Regions from separate parts of the Homo sapiens genome. Here all the other regions are linked to region 1. Evidence: promoter capture Hi-C in 16 types of primary human blood cells and fetal thymus (Javierre and others, 2016). All regions are on one chromosome and are shown on one strand. The core of a region is centred on a gene start or on the middle of the fragment in contact, and the rest is flanking DNA. Distances in the headings are between cores, read along the strand shown.

The links. The method cuts DNA at HindIII sites, captures the fragments that hold promoters and counts their contacts. A CHiCAGO score of 5 or more calls a contact.
Region 2: a fragment that was not itself captured here is called in contact with the fragment with the promoter of HSD17B4 in region 1 in 1 of 17 cell types (non-activated CD4 T cells); the score reaches 7.2 in non-activated CD4 T cells.
Region 3: a contact is called between a fragment that was not itself captured here and the fragment with the promoter of HSD17B4 in region 1, in 2 of 17 cell types (activated CD4 T cells and erythroblasts). The highest score is 6.2, in activated CD4 T cells.

Annotation. Positions count from the first base shown.
Region 1 is chr5:119,451,229-119,453,928 of GRCh38, forward strand. HSD17B4 (hydroxysteroid 17-beta dehydrogenase 4) reads left to right here and starts at 1,269. Exons shown (of 24, transcript NM_000414.4): 1 at 1,269-1,405. The coding sequence starts at 1,348. RefSeq lists an enhancer at 1,370-1,419. The HindIII fragment of the contact is 7,394 bases long and covers 1-2,700 here.
Region 2 is chr5:118,925,021-118,927,720 of GRCh38, forward strand. All of the region lies in intron 4 of DTWD2 (DTW motif tRNA-uridine aminocarboxypropyltransferase 2), which reads right to left. Among named protein-coding and RNA genes, the nearest start is that of MIR1244-2, 48 kb to the right of the region's middle. The HindIII fragment of the contact is 2,214 bases long and covers 206-2,419 here.
Region 3 is chr5:118,907,629-118,910,328 of GRCh38, forward strand. The region is part of intron 4 of DTWD2 (DTW motif tRNA-uridine aminocarboxypropyltransferase 2); the gene reads right to left. Among named protein-coding and RNA genes, the nearest start is that of MIR1244-2, 66 kb to the right of the region's middle. The HindIII fragment of the contact is 977 bases long and covers 780-1,756 here.

The DNA of each region.
Region 1 (2,700 bases), core at 19-2,518:
TTGACTTCCCTTGTTCCCTAAAAATTGCTGTTATTCTGTTCTTTTTCAAGGTGCACTGATTTCATATTGTTCAAACACACATGTTTTACAATCAATTTGTACAGTTAACACAATTATCACAGTGGTCCTGAGGTGACGTACACCTTCAGCTTACGAAGATAACAGGATTAAGAGATTAAAGTAAAGACAGGCATAAGAAATTATAAAAGTATTATTTGGGAACTGATAAATGTCCGTGAAATCTTCACAATTTATGTTCCTCTGCTGCGGCTCTAGCAGGTCCCTCTGTTTGGGGTCCATGACTTCCCGCAACATCCAATCAATCCTCCATAATGGGCAAAGTGATCTTTCCATAGTGTAAATGTGTTCCCACCACTCTCTGGAGTAATCCTACTTAAAACCGTTTTCAGCACAAAATTCAAACATCTAAACATGATCTTGCTGGCTTTGCTTTTGTGGCTTTACCCTCTTTCTCCCCAAACCTAGCTAGTGTTTGTGCTGCCTGTAATGCCCTTCTTTCTTTGCAGGGGTCGCCACTTTAGGTCCTGGTCCTCCTTCAGAAAGTTTTTCCTCTTTCTCCCCAGCGGGGATAGGGTCTGTTTATTTTGACACCATTAGCTCACTTACACACATTGGTCACAAGTCTAGGCTGCACCGTTATTGAAAGTTTACCATCTGACTCTGAGTAGCTTGAGGATCCTATCAAAACTCAGGAGATGCTCAGTAAATGTTGATTGAACTATGACTGTTCTCAACATACAAACGCAAGATCATTTAGGAACACTTGTCAAAATGTTTTTGCCCCTTGAGATTCTATTTTGGGAGGTAAGCAGTGGGGGTCCAGGACTCTGCATTTTGACAGTCCCCTGATGTTTGCATGTAGAAGTGCAGGGATTATTACACTGACAAATCTTTACCATCCCTAAGGGGGACTTTCCTTCCCAGGGGCTATCTCTGGAAGCCCCTCAAGGATAGGGGCCGCATGCTGTTTCTCTAGGTCAGCAACTAAACCCAGAAAACGTTTATTGAGTGAATGATGAAACGACAGGTGAATAGATGAACGCAAGGTGTCGAGTTAACTATTCTTCTACACAAGTCCTAGCAGCTCCCATTGCTTCCAGCCGCAGAAATGGCCCCTGGAAGGCAAGTCTTCCAGCGAGTGGAGTCACTCTTAACTACATTTCCCAGGATTCCAAGGGAGCCGCGCGCTCTGCGCTCATCTTCCTACCAGAAATCGGCAAGTCACTGACCCTCGTCCCGCCCCCGCCATTCCCCGCCTCCTCCTGTCCCGCAGTCGGCGTCCAGCGGCTCTGCTTGTTCGTGTGTGTGTCGTTGCAGGCCTTATTCATGGGCTCACCGCTGAGGTTCGACGGGCGGGTGGTACTGGTCACCGGCGCGGGGGCAGGTGAGCATGCGAAGGTTGGAGGCCGCGCCCCTTGCTGAGGCGCAGCTGGCTGCTCTTTTCGGGCCGGCATACGCGCGCAGCCGCAGCTGAGGTCACCCCGCTGAGGTGGTGGGGAGGGGAATGGTTATTCTTGAGGCACCGCATCTCTTGAGGAGGAAAGAGCCGGAAACACCTGGTCTCTCAAGCAGGTACAGCCCGCTTCTCCCCAGCACCCCGGTGTGGGCTTCCCAAGGTCCTGCCTGAGAGGAGAGGCCAGGCTGGGCTGCTGATTGCAAAACTGGGTGAAAGTTCTCCCTGACCCTTATCTGTGGGCATCGATTGTTACTCTTCCTGCAATTAACTCTCTTAGATCTTTGCCTAGTCTTTTAAAGGACTGAAAAGCCGCGAGGGGCGGGGGCTGGAATTCGCCCCCTGAAGCGCAGAGATGTCAGCTCCTGAAAAGTCATTCGGTCGTTCAGTGTTTGTTTCCCTCTGTCGTAAGATTTTAAGTTCGTGAGAGGACCTTCTTTAAAGAGGGCGTCTGATAAGAGCCCTTCCCCGTTGGAGTTTGTATGCTTAGCAAGTCACAATCTGTTCTCGAAATCCACTGGAGTCTTGGCAGAGGTTGTAAGCTCAAATGCGCACAGGGGTCAGGCGTATGATGGAGAAAGAAAATGGGAGTAGGATGGGCACATCTGAGGAACTGGAGAGCAGAGAATTCCGAAGTGGACCGGCCAGTGGGAAAGTTGCCTGTATTTCAGGAGCGGCAAAATGGAAAATTGTTATGTGAAATAGCCCCATTTTTTAAAGTACAAAAAATTAAAACAAACCATTCATACCAACATAGATGCTGTGCAGTGAGATTTTACATTAGTTTCTCACCAGTGGGTGACCTCTGTAACCTCCAAGTGCAGGGATCTTGACATTATGCACCTTTGATTCTCCACTGGTAGTACCTTATACCTGGAAAGGCCCTAATGCATGAATTATTTGAGTTATATATTAAACGTTACAAACTGGAATTCTGTCAATTAATTCCTATGTACTTTCATATCTGTATTGATAAAGTGGCTTCTTATGCTGCCTTTCAGAAAATGCTTTCAGTGTTGATGAATAGCCAAGTATTTTATACCCATAGCTGTCTGGTTATCTCTGCATGGGCATGTATTTGGGTGTAGTCATACCTTCTAAATGTTTTTAGGAAAACATTTTGTTTACACTTTGCTTTTATTGTAAATAATGTATTTTACAACGCTTGGTGTTTTAAATCTTTTTTGACAGCTCTTGGATAATTTTCATGCAGGAGGTCCAGGGAT
Region 2 (2,700 bases), core at 63-2,562, 530 kb before region 1:
TTTTAGTCTCATCTAAAAACAATGTCTGCATTTTGGTCAAAGGGAATAAAAACTATAAAGAATTTAAGTTTAAAACCTCAGAAGTCAGGGTTCCATTGTTATTCTTCACTAAGTGTATGGCTTGTATGCACCCAACAACAGAGCAGATAACACAAAAACTACTGGGAATGCAGGGATAACATCGTTAAAAATACATAAGCACTAAAGCTTTTCATAATCCTTTTACAGTATCAAACAGTCCAAGTATACCAAAAAATAAAAACATAAAGAAAAATACAATTAACAAACTTAAAAGCAATAGTATGAATGTTTACATCCCTAAATAGAGAATGTACATTTTTATAGTAATAGAACATGAACAAAAATCTACCAGGTACCTATTCACACAGAAATCATAAACTTATTCAAAATAGCGTGGCTAATGCTCTTTTATCACGATTCCAAAAATCAGAAATAAAAGTAAAATAATGATGAAAAGTGTTAAAACACTTAAGAATTAAGAACTCATTGATAGTATGGAGATTCCTTAAAGAACTAAAAGTAGGCCAGGCACGGTGGCTCATGCCTGTAATTCCAGCACTTTGGGAGGCCGAGGCGGGTGGATCACAAGGTCAGGAAATCGAGACCATCCTGGCTAACATGGTGAAACCCTGTCTCTACTAAAAATACAAAAAATTAGCCGGGCGCAGTGGCGGGTACCTGTAGTCCCAGCTACTCAGGAGGCTGAGGCAGGAGAATGGTGTGAACCCGGGAGGCGGAGCTGGCAGTGAGCCGAGATTGTGCCACTGCACTCCAGCCTGGGTGACAAAGCAAGACTCCATCTCAAAAAAAAAAAGAACTAAAAGTAGATCTACCGTTCAGTCAAGCAATCCCACTACTGGGTATTTACCCAAAGGAAAATAAGTCATTATATGAAAAAAACACATAAACAAAGTGTGATGCCTCATGCCTGTAACCCCAGCACTTTGGGAAGCCGAGGTAGGGAGAGGATCACTTGAGCCCTGGAGTTCAAGGCCAGCCTGGACAACACAGTGGGACCTCATTTCAATTTAAAAAGAAAAAAAAGACACATGCGCAGGCATGTTTATAGCAGCACGATTCACAACTGCAAAGACGTGGAACCAATCTAAGTGCCCATCAACCAATGAGTGGACAAAGAAAATGTAGTATATATATACCACGGAATACTACTCAGCCATAAAAATGAACAAACTAAGTTCATTTTGCAGCAACTTGGATGGAACTGGAGGCCATTATTCTAAGTGAAGTAACCCAGGAATGGAAAACCAAATTCCGTTATGTTCTCACTTATAAGTGGGAGCTAAGCTATGAGGATGCAAAGATGTACATAATAAATTTTGGGGACTCTGGGTGGAAGGAGGGAGGTGAGGAGTAAAACACTAAATATTCGGTACAGTGTACACTGCTCAGGTGACGGGTGCACTAAAATCTCAGAATTCACCACTACAGAATTCATCCATGTAACCAAAAACCACTTGTACCCCAAAAGCTATTGAAATTTTAAAAAAAAGAATTCATTGATAATCCATGGGTAGAAAGAAATCAAAACAACTTATATCAATGTTACTGATAAAAGAACACTTTAACCCAAAATAATGGGATACAGTGACAGTTATACTAGCGGAAATATTGCATCCATCTCGCCCCTTTTGTTCAAAAAAGAAAGTGATTTTTTTTTTTGGAGACAGGGTCTCTCTCTGGCACCCAGGCTGGAGTGCAGTGGCACAATCATAGCTCACTGTAACCTCAAACTCCTGGGCTCAAGTGATCCTCCCACCTCAGCCTCACAAGTAGCTGGAGTTATAGGTACAAGCCACCAAGCCTAGCAGAACTCAGAAATCTTAATAAAGAAATTTAGTACTTGTTTTAGTCAGCTTAGGCTGTTGTAACATTCATTTCTCACAGTTCTAGAAGCTGGGAAGTCTGAATCAGAGCACCTGCATGGTCACGGTCCTGGTGAGAGCTCTCTTCCTGGCTTGCAAATGGAAGTCTTCTTGCTGTGTCCTCACATGCAGAGAGAGACAGAGAAAGAGAGAGAGAGAGACAAAGAGAGACGGAGAGAGACAGAGAGCAAAAAGGAAGTATCTCTCATGTCTCTTCTTCTAAAGGTACTAATCCCATCATGAGGGCTCTGCCTTCATAATCTAATCACCTCCCAAAGGTCCCATCTCCAAATACCATTATATTGGAAGTTAGGGCTCCAATATATGCATGGGGTCGGGGGAGGGACAGGGAACACAATTCAGTCTACAGAAGTACTCTTAGTAAAAATCTTATAAAATCAGAAGAATAATAGAAGAAAATAAGCCCAAAAAGATGAAATATAAAATTGGTCGAGAAAAAAGTTCAACGTAATGAAATAAAAATAAACTATAATAGCCAATATAAACAACCTAAAAGCTTATATTTTAAAAGTTCTATAAAATAGAGAAACCCCTTTTGAATCTGTTTGTGTAAAAAACGTTTGTGTATGTGTGTGTGTCTATGTCTGTGTGTGTATGATTAAAAACAAGAAAAAAATGCATTCCTGAGTAATTAAAATAATTATTTAAGACTGTATATAAGTATATGGCAACCAATCTGCTAACTTAGAGAAAAGAGATAATTCCCTAGAGAAATATAAAAGTTATTAAAAACTGATCTAAATAGAAGTAGAAAGCTTGAATAATTTCCTTAGAA
Region 3 (2,700 bases), core at 18-2,517, 540 kb before region 1:
GCTAAGGCAGGACAATCACTTGAACCTGAGAGGCGAAGACTGCAGTGAGCCAAGATTGTGCCACTGCACTCAGCCTGGGTGACAGCGAGACTCCATATCAAAAAAAAAAAAAAAAGTCCAAAGGTCACCCAGGAGTCAGTGGCACAGATGAAGTCCAAAGGCAGTCTGCTGGAGAATTCTTCTCTTACTCAGGGGAGGGTCGGTCTTTATGTTCTATTCAAGCCTTCAACTGACTGGATAAAGCCCACCCATATTATGGCAGACAATCTGCTTTACTCGATCAATAAAAATGTTAATCTCCTGCAAAATACTTAGAGAAATACTCAGAATAATTTTTAAACAAATATTTGGGCACCCAGTGGCTCACTCAAGTGGACACATAAAACTAACCATCACTGGACCATATAAACTTGCCTTGAAGATGAAGATGCCTTGCACCTCTAAAATTATTTAATTTCATGTTTATTAAAAATGAGCTCAGGACTTCTGTGTCCATGAAGATGAAACAGATGTAGTTTTCCCTGTTTTTCCTCCTAAGTACAACAAAAAACTGGACATTACATATAAAAAATAACCTGAAAAGACTGAAAAGTGATGAGAAGAAAGAAGACCTGCATAGGGACCTCAGGATCCTCAGGACCAAGGAGTGATACGGGTGAGTTCCCTGGATTTTCATTTTGCCTCATATATGCCTGGCTTGGAGCTAAAACAGCTGGCAGCCAGTGTATCTAACACCCTAGATACATCAATGAGTGCCAAAAACAAAAACAAAAAACCCAAGCTTCATTGCATTTCTGGGTAAACTATGGCTCAGAGAAATTAAATGAGTTGTGTTAGTCAAAGAGCTAGTAATTAAGAAAACAGATTTCAAACACATATCTTCTAATGTCAAACCGTGTCTTATATAGCCTAGAATAAATAACAAATGAGTAAATTCAAATTTGTAGAGACTGAATTATGAATGCAAGATAAACCAACTTCTAGGGAAACCGACAAAACAAATGCATCCCACACCCACCACCACCACCAAAAAAAAAAAAAGAAACCAACTCACTGATACCCATCAAAATGAACAAAAGTAATAGAAAAGAAAATGTAACCTGAAGACTGCACTGCCCTTCTGGTTAAAACATTTCAGTTGCGGGTGATGAAAAATTAAACTCAAATCACTTAAGCTAAAACACAATTGATCAGAAAGAACGTCAGTGAGAAGGCAAAGTAGGAGATACCAGCCTTCCTCCACCCACAAAAAACTATTATCCACAAACGAAAATAGCTCTAAAAGAGCTCAGGAGTTAAGGAGCTGCAGCAACACAGTAGAGCAAAAGCCCAAAAATAACTGCCCAAAGATGGTAAAAACAGTCTCATTTTTCCTGAATGAAGCCAACGGTGCTTAGCAATACAAGGAAACTCCCTGACCCGAGTTCCCTTCACAAGAGAAAAGATTAAGGTAAGCACCAGTTTCTCCATCCTTTTAGGGTTCTGCTGCAGTTATACTCCACCCAGATCAATGGGGAGACCCGCATAGCTGAGTCACCTGGAAACAGCTAGGAACAAAGAAGTGTGTGGCCTATTGGCATCAACCACATGGCAGGTTGTGGCCTTCTCAGCAAAAGACTCTAACACCTTTCAACATGGAGAAACTCAACTCAACAGCCCTTGGGGTCACTGCAGATGCCCCACAGTTGTGAGCACTGAGGACCTCAAGTGTTCATAATCATGAACCCCAGAGGCCTGCTTTGCAGAGGACTCAAGAAGCTTTCACCACTGAGGAAACCAATAGCCAGCCAAGCCACTGCAGACCCCCAACAGCTTTTACTAACAAGGGCCTACCAGTTTTTCACCTTCTCAGACTTCACTTGCCTAAGCTACCTTAGTAAGCATCACCATGGGCAACCCAGCCCTGGGAACCAGGGCAGCCACCCCACACATGTCCACTACCACCCCAGGGCCCTGCCACCAGGTTCAGCTTCCACCAGTGTGCACACTGCTGCAATCAGACCCTGCAAGCGCACACATGCAGATTTCAGGGCTGAAGCCCCAGTGCCAGATCCATAAGCACAGATAAGAGTCCAAACAGCCCTCACAGCTACCAAGGACCTCCCACAATTCTTGCCACCAATGACTATGTAGCTAACAATAACACAGAGAGCTGCCTGAAATGACGAGACACTGTGCCCCTGCCTCAGACCTGAAGCCACTGTATTCCCCCGTACTTAGCACTCCATGCCACTAGACCTGGTTCCATAGCATGCTACACAATATGCCCTCCAGTCAGCCCATCAGTGCTCTCCTCCTGCACATAAGATATTCATTTACTGAAGCTTGTGATGAGAGTAGCAGGCCCAGTGGTCTCCAAAATGACTTCAGGGTTATTCTTTCCTTGTCTTGGTGAACAGCACCTGGCTTCTGCCCATCCATACCAATCTCCTTATAACATGTGAACATTCATTTAGCCATACCCTTGGTGCTCTCTCCCAAACACACTTTTTCATTGTTTAAAACATGGCCAGGGTGACAATTTTCCAAATCTTTAAAAGTTCTGCTCCTCTTTTGATTATAAATTCCATCTTTAATTTGTTTCTTTTTGCATTTTACTATAAGCATTTAAGAGAAGTCATGCCTCACCCTCAACACTTCGCTTAGAGATTTCTTCCACCAAATATACTTTTTCACTGCTCAGTAGTACTGCCTTCCACA